Regions from separate parts of the Homo sapiens genome. Here regions 1, 2, 3 and 4 are each linked to region 5. Evidence: promoter capture Hi-C in human tissues and cell types (Jung and others, 2019). All regions are on one chromosome and are shown on one strand. The core of a region is centred on a gene start or on the middle of the fragment in contact, and the rest is flanking DNA. Distances in the headings are between cores, read along the strand shown. Region 1 holds the start of STAC2 (SH3 and cysteine rich domain 2). Region 2 overlaps MED1 (mediator complex subunit 1). Region 3 holds the start of CDK12 (cyclin dependent kinase 12). Region 4 overlaps MED1 (mediator complex subunit 1). Region 5 holds the start of FBXO47 (F-box protein 47).

Region 1 (2,700 bases), core at 26-2,525, 260 kb after region 5:
TTGCTTCTACCCGCTCCCCCTCCTCTGGTCCCGCTCCCGTGGTGGGGCGCGGGGCTGCCTGTCTTTCTGGTCTGGAGCCACAACCGCAGGCCCCCGTCCTCGCCCGTGACCGACGGCCGGCGCTGCTGCAGGCCCCCTCGCGGACTCCGCAGCTGCGCACCCCCGGCCGCGGCCTCGCGTCCCCGAGCCCAACAGGGCTAGGAGCGGGGAATGCAGGACTGCGGAGGGGCAGGGAGAGACGCCCTGAGACGCGGAGATAAACACCCGGAGACGCCGGGAGAGACGGGGAGAGACGCACACAGAGACACCAAGACACAGACACGCAGGTTGTAGAGACAAATTCAGAGACACGAGCGAGGATAGAGGCGCGGACTGAGCCCGGGACTGGGACCCGGCGGCCGCTGGAGGGTGCGCCTCGCACGCACAGCCGGGCGCGTACCCCGCCCGCACCGCTCCACGCGCGCCCTCCGGCCTCGCTGCGCCCATCTCTCCAACGAAGACCAGTGGCCGCCTCCCCAGAAGGTCGCGATGGCGCGCGCGGGCGTGCGGTGCCGGTGTGATCGGGGGCTCCTTGTGGCCCCTCGTCGCCAACCCACTCCTACCCCCGGGAGCGGCGCGGAGCCTCAGTGGTCACGCGGGCCTCGCGACCGCGACCCTAGGACGCCCGGGCCCACAGGAGGACCCCGCCGGGAAGAGGGCGCCCGGGCCCGGGGCGCGGACAGGCCTTGCGCCCCCCAAGTTACCTTGGTTTCCTGGAGGGCGGAGACGGTCCCTGGGGGGCTGTGGGTGGCCGCGTCATCCGGTTCGTTCTCCTTCTCGCTCATCTCGGTCATGGTTCGGGGAGAGGGGAGGAGAGGGTGCCGAGATCCGACGGCAGGCCCACCGCGGGCAGGCTGCGGGTGGCGGGCGTCTCCGGGACTCTGAAGCCGTTCTCCAGAGGCTGCCCCCAGTTAGCCCCCGGCACGGCAGCCCCCAACCCGCGGGAGCGGGCAGAGAAAGTTGCCGGGGTGGCGGGCGAGGGGAGGCCACCACGCTGAGCCGCAGGAGCGGGACGACCCCGGGCGCGAGGACCGAGGGTCTGCAGAGGATGCTGCTCGCAGCGCGGGGAGGAGGGAAGTGGGGCCGCGGGGATGAGCCGAGGGAGGGAGCCAAGGAGCTGTCCGTGTCCAGCCGGCTCCGCCGTCCGCTGCGCCCGCCCCCCATCCCCTCCCCTCCCCCGCCGGCCCCAGCCCGGCACCCGGCGGCCCCTCCGCCCAGTCCTCGCCGCCCAACTTTGATTTAGGAGGTCGCCTGGTCCCGCCCCCTGCCCTACGCCGCTCCCCCGCGCAGCCCTGCAAATCAGGCTCTCAGCTATTGGCTGCCTCGGTGGCCAGGAGGGCGAACTGGGCGGAGTCTTGGGGGGCTCGACACGATGGGGCGGGGCTTGGCGGGGAAAGAAGCGGAGGAGGGAGTTTCACACTGAAAAACCCGGGATGGAGGGGCGTGACCAGATTGAGGGAAGCTTGGGGAGATCATAGTAGCGTCTGGATGGGTTGCAGGGAATAGAAATAGGTTGGGGCCGCAGCAAGATAGCGGAGAGTGAGATCGAAGCTAGGACTTCCAAAGAGCGAAGATTGATAGATGCCAGAGGTTGGTGAAGGAAGAATGGGGACCCATCTGTGCCATTAATTGGATGCCTTTATACCCTGAAAAGGCTCTCTCCAAATATACACACAACTGGACTATGGTGTATGTGTCAAAGGCCAGGCCGGACAATTCCTCCTTGTGATGGAAAGCCGGATGACTCTATCCCCTTCCAGTCTTGGCGTCTGAACTTCAGCAGAGATGGGGGCTCAGTCCTCACACCCAAAGTCCCCAAACTTCTCTGAGACACGCTCCCCTCCTAAAGATCCTACCACAACTGGAGTTAGATCAGGGGATAATACAGAGAGGTGGGGGAAGAGGTCCTCACCATCACCTTCCAAGGTGCCCCTCTCTCCACAATAACCTTCTATTTTTTATTTTTTTATTTTTTTATTTAGAGACAGGGTTTCACTCTTTCACCCAGGCTGGAGTGCAGTGGTGCGATCATAACTCACTGCAGTCTCAAACTCCTAGGCTCAAGCAATCCTCCCACCTCAGCCTCTCTAGTTGCTGGGACCACAGGCATACGCCACCATGCCTGGCTAATTTTTAAAATTTATTGGTAGAGACAAGTCTTGCTATGTTACACAGGATGATCTCCAACTCCTGGGCTCAAGCGATCTTCTCACTTTGGCCTCCCAACGTATTGGGATTACAGGCGTGAGCCACTGTGCCCGTTCAAGATATTTCCAATATTTCTTCTTCTCCTTCTCTTCTTCTTCTTTTTTTTTTTTTTTTTTTTTTTTTTTTTTTGGAGACAGGATCTTGCTCTATTGGCCAGGCTGTAGTGCAGTGGCTTGATCACACCTCACTGTAGCCTGGACCTCCTGGGCTCAACCCTCCCAAGTAGCTGGGACCACAGGCACATGCCACTGCACCCAGCTAATTTTAAAATTTTTTGTAGAGATGGAGTCTCGCTATGTTGCCCAGGCTAGTCTTAAACTCCTAGGCTCAAGTGACCCTCCTGCCTCAGCCTCCCAAAGTGCTGGGATTACAGGTGTGAACCACCACACCTGACCAAGATACCTCTTCTAATGCATGTTGATTATCTGGGACCCATTTTCTCAGGTCCCCCTC
Region 2 (2,700 bases), core at 68-2,567, 460 kb after region 5:
CCCCATCTCTAAAAAAATTGTTAAAGTTACCCAGGCATGGTGGCACTTGACTGAAGTCCTAGCTACTCAGGGGGCTGAGGTGGGAAGATCACTTAAGCCCAAGAGTTAAGGGCTGAAGTGAGCTATGTTTCTGCCACTGTACTTCAGCCAGAGGGACATAGCAAGGCTCTGTCTCAAAAAGATAACAAACAAAAATGGGGAGGACAGGTATTGACAGCTTAGAAATCATCGCAAAAAGCCCAGGCGCAGTGGCTCACGCCTATAATCCCAGCACTTTGGGAGGCCGAGACAGGCAGCTCACCTAGGGTCAGGAGTTCGAGACCAGCCTGGCCAACATGGTGAAACCCTGTCTCTGGTAAAAATACAAAAATTAGCTGGGCACGGTGGCACGTGCCTGTAATCCCAGCTACATGGGAGGCTGAGGCAAGAGAATTGCTGGAACCCAGGATGCAGAGGTTGCAATGAGCCAAGATCGCGCCACTGCACTCCAGCCTGGGAGACAGAGCAAGACTCTGCCTAAATGCCTAAAAAAAAAAAAAAAAAAAAAAAAAGGAAGAAATCATCACAAAATACACAAATATCTGGCAATTTTCTCCCTCTGCTTATATGTTTATAAACCCCAAGATGAGGCCGGGCGCAGTGGCTTATGCTTATAATCCCAACCCTTTGCAATGCAGTGGCAGGAAGATCACTTGATCCCAGTTCAAGACCAGCCTAGGCAACATAGTAAGACCATGTCTCTATAAAACAACAAAAATTAGCCAGGCATGGTATCCTGTACCTGTAGTCCAAGCTACTCAGGAAACTGAGTTAGGGGGATTATTTGGGCCCAGGAGGTTGAGGCTGGAGTGAGTCATGATTGCACGACTGCACTCCAGCCTGGGCAACACAGCAAGACCCTGTCTCAAAAATAAATAAATAGGGATTGGTGCAGTGGCTAATACCTGTTTGTAATCCCAGCACTTTGGGCAGCCGAGGAGGGAGGATCACTTGAAGTCAGGAATTTGAGACCAGCCTGGCCAACATGGTGAAACCCCATCTCTACTAAAAATACAAAAATTAGTCGGGTGTGGTGGCACATGCCTGTAATCCCAGCTACTCGGGAGGCTGAGGCAGGAGAATCCCTTGAACCCAGGAGGCAGAGGTTACAGTGATCCAAGATTGTGCCACTGCACTCCAGCCTGGTGAGAGCCTGTCTCAAGAAAAATAAACAAATACATAAGAATAAAAATTGGCCAGGCGCAGTGGCTCATGCCTGTAATCCCAGCACTTTGGGAGGCTGAGGCGGGCAGATCACGAGGTCAGGAGATCGAGATCATCCTGGCTAACGCTGTGAAACCCCGTCTCCACTAAAAAATACAAAAAAATTAGCCAGGCGTGGTGGCGGGCGCCTGTAGTCCCAGCTACCCTGGAGGCTGAGGCAGGAGAATGGCGTGAACCTGGGAGGCGGAGCTTGCAGTGAGCTGAGATCGCGCCACTGTACTCCAGCCTGGGCAACAGAGCAAGACTCCGTCTTAAAAAAAAAAAAAAAAAACAGAATAAAAATTAACAAATAAATAGGCTGGGCGCAGTGGCTCATGCCTGTAATCCCAGCACTTTGGGAGACCAAGGTAGGCCGATCAGTCGAGGCGAGGAGTTCAGGACCAGCCTGGCCAAAACAGTGAAACCCTGTCTCTACCAACAATAGAATAAATTAGCTGGCTATTGTGGTGCACACCTGTAATCCCAGCTACTCAGGAGGCTGAGGCATGAGATTCACTTGAGCCCAGGAGGTGGAAGGAGCAGTAAGCCGAGATCATGCCACTGCACTCCAGCCTGGGCAACAAAGTGAGACTCTGTCTCAAAAAAATAAACAAACAAACTAAAGGTGAAATGAAAAGTAATGACCCTCAACTTAAATTACACATGTTTCTAAACAAGCAAAATAGGATCACGTACCCCCACTCCTTGGTGTGAGATAGCCAACACTTCCATGAAGAATCTTATCCAAGGGACCAGCATTAGTTGCTTTCCTGTAAGACAAGTGATCTATGTTTGCTTATATTTAATCCCTGATGGTCTTGGTACACACTGTGATATTGAGTTCACCTCTCCGAAGTCTTGTCTTTTTTTTTTTTTGAGACGGAGTTTCGCTCTTGTCGCCCAGGCTGAAGTGCAGTGGTACAATCTCAGCTCACCGCAACCTCCGCTTCCCAGGTTCCAGTGATTCTCCTGCCTCAGCCTCCCGAGTAGCTGGGATTACAGGCGCCCGCCACCACGCCCAGCTAATTTTTTGTATTTTTAGTAGAGACGGGGTTTCACCATATTGGGCAGGCTGGTCTCGAACTCGTGACCTCAGGTGATCCGCCCGCCTCGGCCTCCCAAAGTGCTGGGATTACAGGCGTGAGCCACCGCGCCCAGCCCAAAGTCTTATAATACTATCATAATGGTTCTGTCTTGTAATTGGGCATATAGCAAATGTATTTCACCTCCAAAGTAAAGGGATTATTTCCAAGTACACACCAGTATGTAGTATGGTGAACAAAAATTACACTTAGACTATTATTTCTCAGATGGGACTCCAGGTCTGATGAGTCTTGAGATAAAACCTATGGTAACCAACAACTTAGCGATACTGATACTCAGAAGTTCAAATACAATCATCATTTTGGAAGAGAAAGGACATATTATCATACAGGCTTAATAGAGATGTATAAAATA
Region 3 (2,700 bases), core at 113-2,612, 490 kb after region 5:
AAAGGCTAAATTATCCAATAACGGCCATGGGAGGATCTCAAGATGGGATGAGCTTTTAGGTTCTGAGATTTGAAGCAAAGATTGGTAAGGAGACAACACCATAGGATGGAAGAGCTTGTGTTTTAGTCTCAGAAAGACATGAATTTGAATGTTGACTGTGGCACTTGTTGGACCAAATTATTCAACTTCCCTGAGGCTGGGATTCCTTTTCTATAAAACAGGGATGAAAATCTCGTGTTTTGCAGGATAATTGTGAAAATTAGAGATAATGTATGTAAAATTCTTGGCAGGTAGCACACACCCTATATGTGGGAAGCACTGTTAAAACACTCAGGGACTTGGGTTGAAATGTCCCGACATTTGTCTTTTGCTCTGTAAAAAATAATCTCAACCGGGCGCGGTGGCTCAAGCCTGTAATCCCGCCACTTTGGGAGGACCAGACGGGCAGATTGCTTCATTCTAGGAGTTCAAGACCAAGGATCGCGGATTGCTTGAGTCTAGGAGTTCGAGACTAGCCTGGGCAACATGGCGAAACCCCATCACTACGAATAATAGAAACAAATTAGCACGGCGTGGTGGCGCGACTCTATAGTTCCAAGTACTCGGCAGGATGAGGTGGGAGGATTGCTTGAGCCCAGGAGGTGGAGGCTGCAGTGAGCCGAGATCGTGCCACTGCACTCCAGTCTGGGCAAAAGAGAGAGAACTTGTCTCAAACAAACAAAAAAATGGCCCGGCGCGGCGGTTCACGCCTGTAATCCTAGCACTTTGGGAGGCCGAGGCGGGAGGATCACTTGAGGTCAGGAGGTCGAGACCAGCCTGGCCAACATGGTGAAACCCTGTCTCTACTAAAAACAAAAAAGTTAGCCGGGCGTGGTGGCGGGCGCCTGTAATCCCAGCTACTCGGGAGGCTGAGGCAGGAGAATCGCTTGAACCCAGGAGGTGGAGGTTGCAGTGAGCCGAGATCGCGCCACTAACACTCCAGGATGGGCTACAGAGCGAGACTCCGTCTCAAAGGAAAACAAAAAACAAACAAAAAAAAGTCATCCTGGTAGTTAAAAGATTTGTTAAAAAGGATGTTGAAATTATTTTGTCACGGAGCCTGGGAGTGTTTGTTTAATCAGTTACCGATAAAGTTTTGGTTAAAAAAAAAAAACTCGGTTTGTTCCGTTTCAATAAAGCTTTGCTCAAACGGGGAGCTCCGGGAGCTCATCGCGAGACTCAGGTGAAACGCGTTTCTAGTTTGGGACCTGATCTCGCGTTGTTTGATAAGCAGGGGAATGAGGTGAAAGCGAAGCACGAAACATCGCGAGAGGCTACTGGACTCTCGCGACGATTTCTGGGATTGCCCCTCCCCCCTTCCCCAAGTGCCGTTTCGGTTTAATCTAGTGTGTGACTGGGTCTGTGTGAGGGAGAGAGTGTGTGTGGTGTGGAGGTGAAACGGAGGCAAGAAAGGGGGCTACCTCAGGAGCGAGGGACAAAGGGGGCGTGAGGCACCTAGGCCGCGGCACCCCGGCGACAGGAAGCCGTCCTGAACCGGGCTACCGGGTAGGGGAAGGGCCCGCGTAGTCCTCGCAGGGCCCCAGAGCTGGAGTCGGCTCCACAGCCCCGGGCCGTCGGCTTCTCACTTCCTGGACCTCCCCGGCGCCCGGGCCTGAGGACTGGCTCGGCGGAGGGAGAAGAGGAAACAGACTTGAGCAGCTCCCCGTTGTCTCGCAACTCCACTGCCGAGGAACTCTCATTTCTTCCCTCGCTCCTTCACCCCCCACCTCATGTAGAAGGGTGCTGAGGCGTCGGGAGGGAGGAGGAGCCTGGGCTACCGTCCCTGCCCTCCCCACCCCCTTCCCGGGGCGCTTTGGTGGGCGTGGAGTTGGGGTTGGGGGGGTGGGTGGGGGTTGCTTTTTGGAGTGCTGGGGAACTTTTTTCCCTTCTTCAGGTCAGGGGAAAGGGAATGCCCAATTCAGAGAGACATGGGGGCAAGAAGGACGGGAGTGGAGGAGCTTCTGGAACTTTGCAGCCGTCATCGGGAGGCGGCAGCTCTAACAGCAGAGAGCGTCACCGCTTGGTATCGAAGCACAAGCGGCATAAGTCCAAACACTCCAAAGACATGGGGTTGGTGACCCCCGAAGCAGCATCCCTGGGCACAGTTATCAAACCTTTGGTGGAGTATGATGATATCAGCTCTGATTCCGACACCTTCTCCGATGACATGGCCTTCAAACTAGACCGAAGGGAGAACGACGAACGTCGTGGATCAGATCGGAGCGACCGCCTGCACAAACATCGTCACCACCAGCACAGGCGTTCCCGGGACTTACTAAAAGCTAAACAGACCGAAAAAGAAAAAAGCCAAGAAGTCTCCAGCAAGTCGGGATCGATGAAGGACCGGATATCGGGAAGTTCAAAGCGTTCGAATGAGGAGACTGATGACTATGGGAAGGCGCAGGTAGCCAAAAGCAGCAGCAAGGAATCCAGGTCATCCAAGCTCCACAAGGAGAAGACCAGGAAAGAACGGGAGCTGAAGTCTGGGCACAAAGACCGGAGTAAAAGTCATCGAAAAAGGGAAACACCCAAAAGTTACAAAACAGTGGACAGCCCAAAACGGAGATCCAGGAGCCCCCACAGGAAGTGGTCTGACAGCTCCAAACAAGATGATAGCCCCTCGGGAGCTTCTTATGGCCAAGATTATGACCTTAGTCCCTC
Region 4 (2,700 bases), core at 98-2,597, 440 kb after region 5:
CCCTGAAACTCTCCTCCTGACATGTTATGTTTGGAGGACATAGGATGGCTGGAAGAATTTGTGCTCACCCCCATCTGGCCGTCCAGTGGGTCTTCACCCCCAGGGCCACTGGTGACAACCCCATGCTTCAGTTTATCTATGACAGCTGTCAAGGACGGCTTCTTGTTTCTGCTGGGAGATTTTCCTTTAGAACTCCCATGCTGGTTCTGAGAGGATGACATGGAAGAGCCACTTGAGGAAAAGGAGGAGGAAGATGCCGTACAGGAATTAGATGATGGGGGAGTTTTCTGGGACAACGAGCCTGAGGATCCTAACCCTGAAGATGACTTCATGCCAGAGCTTGAACTAGTTCCAGACATATGAGAACCACCAGAACCTGAACTGATAGGGGACTTGGCTTTAGAGGATGGAGGAGTTCCAGGAACAGGCTTCATTGGAGAGGCAAGCTTGTCAGAGCCTCCAGGTGGCCTTGAATGAGAAGGGGATATGTTTGGTTTACTTAAAGAAGGATTCATAAGTGATGATGGCTTTCCTTGAGGTTTCATCTTGGTGCTGCTAGAGCCACTGCTCAGTCCATGCTTGGTTATGGGAGAGGAGCCTGGCTTCCCCCCAGACTGGGATGAATTTTTGGACTGGCTAGATCCAGAAGACCCCTGGCTAGAATACATACTGCTACTTAACTTGGAACTTGATGAACCTTCTGATTTACTGCTTTTCATCTTCCCTGAGGTGGAAGCAGATGAGGAAGAGGAGGAAGAATGGCTATGGTGGCTTTTGCTGCCTGAGGAAGACACAGAACCACTGCTGGTATACTGACTGTGAGAGGAAGGCTTGCCCACCATCACTGTTCCCTTAGGAATCTGAATAGTGATTTTGGGAATGGGTGGTGTGGCAACACCTGGGGGAGTCTGAGATCTTCCTGCACTGCCTGGCGATTTAGATCCACCTGTACTGGTAGGTGGGGTAAAAGGTCTGTTAGAAGAACTATGAGATGGAGACTTTCCCTCAGTGTCTGCCTTCTTCCGCTTTGGAGGCTTATCTTTGCTTTTCCCATCATTAGAAGGGGTCCGACTGCGCTTCCCTGGTTTGCTGTCTAATCCGGGCCCCGAGAGAGTACTATTACTGGTGCCATTGCCTTCCTTTACCCTCTTTTGAGTCTTTTCTTTCCCTAAGTCCCCAGTGGTCAGTAAAGGACCCTGACTACCACTGTGATGCTCCATAAGATCTGCAGGAGCTAAAGCTTTGCCGGCTACTGAAATAATACTGAAATCAACTGTGTCGGCTTGGTTATTGCCCTTAAACTTGGTCTCCCCATTATCACCTCCAAGCATTGGCACCCCCAAAGTATTTAGTGCCTGAGATGCAAATCCTTTGAAATCATCATTATCCCCACTTTGGCTGCTTTCATCAAAATATTCTTCTCCAAAACCACTTTGGCTCTGGCTGTTCAATAAATCAGGATTGAAATCTACTCCATCATGAAAAAAATGATTGGTAGGAGAGTCACTACTGGGGCTTCCAGCAGCATCTGCAATAAGATCAGCTGGATCAGTGTATGGATTTTCATTATTGTTAGTTTGAAAGACATCAGAGTCAAACAGGGTACTCTGAGAATGCCCAGAGCTTGAAGAATCTCGAAGAGGGGTGCCAATGGCTGGGCAATCATCACTAGTGCTGGGAAGTTTAGAAGCTTCTTCTGCAATGTCTGAAAGGATGTCAGTTACATCTGGGCCAATGCTGTCTGAACTGGATAGTCGGACCATCCTTTGAATACTGGGTTGGGGGTGAGGTACTGGTTGTGGGTAAGTTGTTGGGGGAGTGCTACACTGGCTTGGAGCTGGAGTGATGTGTGGCGTATCCAGCGTGTCAGCTGTCATGTTGACATCAAAGATAGGGTTCTGTGAGTCAACATCCATTGAAAATAGCTCCCTCTGAAAGTCATCTTCAGTCTGGTGCTTTGGTTTCTCAGGTGGTAATCTTGATGACTTCTTTTTCTTGGTCTTGTTGCTCCCCGAGCATATTTCCATGCGGGGTGAGCCGGAAGAGGAGTTCTGCCTTTCTAAAGGGCTGCTTCCATAAAGGGTTGAGAAATCCTGGGCAGGATTATCTTTAAGAAGGTTCATGAGCATCGGGTGGTTCTTGGTGTTGCCGGCCATCGAAGAGACAGGTGGCGGCGTGTGATGAGGAGGGGTCGGACTCGAGCCAATGGTAGACCCCCCGTTCCCTGTGATTTGCAACAAACTGGTAAGAATTGGGTTCTGAGACACCTTGCTGAAGTCCTCCCCATGGCCCACCGACTCATGCCGATCTTTGATGCTCATGCTCATATTAAACAAGGTGGTAATGGGACCCCCCGGAAAGGTGTTGGTTGGTGTAGTGGTACCACTCATTGGGTTGTTGCCTGTGGTCATGCCATACCCTGGGCTGCTAGCCGGGGGCAGGTTCTTTTTCACCATGTCTTCAACTGTCTCTGCAATGAGGGACAGTGCTGGGGTGTCGGCTTGAATGGTTTCAGCTTTCCTCCGAATAGCCCTCATCGTCACAGGGATGGACATACATCTGCAAAATAAAGAAGAAAACAAAGTTAACATTGCAATAGCTGCTGAATGAGACCTGAGATTTAGATATAACATCAGAGTTTTGCAGTAAGCAGTTTTCAGGTAGGGCAAATAATCTGTAAGACAAAAATAGTTCTATCAA
Region 5 (2,700 bases), core at 127-2,626:
GGGATCACTATATATAATACTTTGTAATCTGCTTTTTTCAATGAATTCTCTTTCCATGCTAATAACCTTCTACAAGTAATCATATTTTAATGGCTATGTGTCATTCCACCAAGTAAAATAATCTTAATTTGTTTAATCCATAAGGCTGTTTGTAACCTTAACTTTTCACAGTAGGCGTTTTGTTTGTTTGTTTGCGATGGAGTTTCGCACAGTCTCCTGGGCTGGAGTGCAGTGGCGCGATCTCGGCTCACTGCAAGCTCCGCCTCCCGGGTTCAAGCGATTCTCCTGCCTCAGCCTCCCTAGTAGCTGGGATTACAGGTGCCCGCCCCCACGCCCAGCTAATTTCTGTATTTTTAGTAGAGACGGGGTTTCACCGTGTTAGCCAGCCTGGTCTCGATTTCCTGACCTCGTGATCCGCCTGCCCCGGCCTCCCAAAGTGCTGGGATTTACAGGCGTGAGCCACCGCACCCGGCCAACACAGTAGGTGTTTTAAAGCATTTTTATTACAATAGCATAAATCCGGCCTTGGCTTCTTCCTGTTTCTCTGAGAAATGTGGACAGTGGGGCTTGGGCCCGTGGGCTCTTCAAAGACTGTCAGTCACCAGGCGGGGACTTCACTGTGTCAACTGTGAACTACATACATGTTTAAAATAAATATAAACAAAAATTTAAAAATGATAAGCCCAAATTCTTCTAAAACTCAAGTCTCCACTTATAGTTCCTTATTTTCCTCACTCAGAGCTGGACGTTTCGTAGGGAAAAAGCAAGCTTTTGTGAAAATTCTAAAGGTATAATCCTAAATTATTTCTGGTTTCCGCTCACCCCTCTAGCGAATAAGAATCACAGCCCCAAATAATAATAATAAAATGATGTTTCATGCCCCCTGTTCTATCCCACTAATTTTGACCGCGCGTGAAAGGTTTTGAGGGTTCAATTGGATGAACCTCCCCGCCCCCCACACCTTTAAGATAAAAACTACATTCACAGGGATGTCTGTTTTAACATAAAACTCTTGTAAGGGCCCCACCCCATCTGTCGGGCAGCTGCCCCCAAACATCTCCAAAGCCGCAAACTAGGGAAGCCTAAAGGACAAACTGGTCAACAGGAGAATCAGACCACACGGGGTACATGTTTCGCTCCCTTCAGTCCATGAAAGATGAAATTATCGCAATAAAATACTGGGAAAAAAAACCCTCTTTTACCACAGATTTTGACAGTTTTTCCGGCTACAGAGTCACAGGAAAGTGGGAGTTAGTCGTTTTGCCCCACCATCCTCAAATTTCTTAGTGTTTAGAAAAGAAAATATCTCCTCAAGAGCTTCCCGCCAGGAGGCGAGAGGGTCACACTCCCGTAGGCTCCGGAGCTGCAGCCCTACCCACCAGGCGTCCCCGCGGCCTCTAGAATATTGTAGAATCTTCCCAAGAGCCCCCGCGGGAAGGAGGCCCGCCCCCTCATGAATAGCAAGCAGCCTCAGCTCTCGTAGTGCCCGCCTCCCTCATGAATATTGTAGATCTTCCCAGAAGCCCTAGCGGGAAGGAGGTTCCCCCCCGCCTCCCGCCTCCCCGCTTTATGAATAGCAAGAGAGCCAGCTCCCATGGTGCCCTCCGTCTCATGAATAACTAACAAGGGCGAGGTTCCTGGAGCCCAAACTCAGGCCTCAGCCACCCTTCGCTCCAAGCTGAAGACAAGAAGGGGCTGGAGCCGTTACGGTGTGGGGAAGGGGAGGGTGTAGCCCAAGATCCTGAACGTGGCGAGCCACGTCTCTGCTCCACTGCCTTTCCCTTCACCTAGTTTTGAGACAATTTTTGAGTTCCTCCCACCCCCACTGACTCCAGTAGGGCAAGTTACAAGGGGTTTCATCAAACCTTTTGGTGGAAAAAAACCTCCAGACATTCCTTTTTAAATTTGTCTTGCCGGTGCGGTGGCTCACGCCTGTAATCCCAACACTTTGGGAGGCCGAGGCGGGAGGCTCCCTTGAGTCCAGGAGTTTGAGACCAGCCTGGGCAACATAGGGAGACCCCCACCCCCAGCCATAACCCCGCTCCCGGTCTCTAAATAAACACATAAATAATAAATCTGTCTGGAATCAAAGGAAGATGTGTGTCTCCATCCTCTCAAGATGAAATCAAGACAAATCTTTCTAGCTAGGCCTTCCTGGCTAGAAGATTAAATTCTCATTCATTCATTTCTTCATTCATTCTGTAACTATTTATTGAAGCCTGCTCTGGGCCGGGCACAGGAGTAGGCCCTAAGGATGGAATAGAGAACAAGACAGATACGTTTCCTGCTTTAATGGAGTTTATTAGCCTAATGGGGAAGATAGAATGAACAGACAGAGCATCTACAGATGTTGAGAGCAGTTCCGGTGAGAGCAGCGTGACAGAGGAAATAAGACAGAATGATGGGGTGTGTGTGTGTTGGCGGAGAGCTACTTTAGATAGACTGATACTCAAGGTCCCTTTGATATGACGATTTGAGAACTGATGGAGGAGAAGGAGCCAGTCAGGAGAAGGGCTGAGGGAAGAGGGAATGGGGGAAAGATTCTACTTTTGTAGATCAATTCTACATTATACCCAACACAAAATATATAAGGAACTACATAAAGACTGAGTGGAAATTTAGGATTAGTTGGCATGCTGTTATTTTATATAGTCACATATATTCATCCATTTGGCTTTGTATCTTTTTTTTTCCTGACCT

Evidence for each region. Contacts are between HindIII fragments. The study calls those that stand out against the background at their distance.
Region 1: the fragment with the promoter of STAC2 here is called in contact with the fragment with the promoter of FBXO47 in region 5 in 10 of the 25 tissues and cell types used here (adrenal gland, dorsolateral prefrontal cortex, liver and 7 more).
Region 2: a fragment that was not itself captured here is called in contact with the fragment with the promoter of FBXO47 in region 5 in 1 of the 25 tissues and cell types used here (liver).
Region 3: a contact is called between the fragment with the promoter of CDK12 here and the fragment with the promoter of FBXO47 in region 5, in 3 of the 25 tissues and cell types used here (adrenal gland, heart left ventricle and mesendoderm cells).
Region 4: a contact is called between a fragment that was not itself captured here and the fragment with the promoter of FBXO47 in region 5, in 2 of the 25 tissues and cell types used here (lymphoblastoid cells and small bowel).

What each region holds. Positions count from the first base shown.
Region 1 is chr17:39,224,670-39,227,369 of GRCh38, forward strand. STAC2 (SH3 and cysteine rich domain 2) reads right to left here and starts at 1,276. Exons shown (of 11, transcript NM_198993.5): 1 at 744-1,276. The coding sequence starts at 833. RefSeq lists an enhancer at 534-1,034. The HindIII fragment of the contact is 22,351 bases long and covers 1-2,700 here.
Region 2 is chr17:39,429,177-39,431,876 of GRCh38, forward strand. MED1 (mediator complex subunit 1) reads right to left here. Exons shown (of 17, transcript NM_004774.4): 9 at 1,939-2,012. Among named protein-coding and RNA genes, the nearest start is that of MED1, 21 kb to the right of the region's middle. The HindIII fragment of the contact is 9,295 bases long and covers 1-2,700 here.
Region 3 is chr17:39,460,124-39,462,823 of GRCh38, forward strand. CDK12 (cyclin dependent kinase 12) reads left to right here and starts at 1,363. Exons shown (of 14, transcript NM_016507.4): 1 at 1,363-2,700. The coding sequence starts at 1,949. RefSeq lists enhancers at 1,140-2,064, 1,425-1,474, 1,565-1,624, 1,790-2,700, 2,015-2,144. The HindIII fragment of the contact is 12,986 bases long and covers 1-2,700 here.
Region 4 is chr17:39,408,163-39,410,862 of GRCh38, forward strand. It overlaps MED1 (mediator complex subunit 1), which reads right to left. Exons shown (of 17, transcript NM_004774.4): 17 at 1-2,559. Among named protein-coding and RNA genes, the nearest start is that of FBXL20, 7.9 kb to the left of the region's middle. The HindIII fragment of the contact is 5,074 bases long and covers 1-2,700 here.
Region 5 is chr17:38,966,027-38,968,726 of GRCh38, forward strand. FBXO47 (F-box protein 47) reads right to left here and starts at 1,377. Exons shown (of 11, transcript NM_001008777.3): 1 at 1,203-1,377. The HindIII fragment of the contact is 17,690 bases long and covers 1-2,700 here.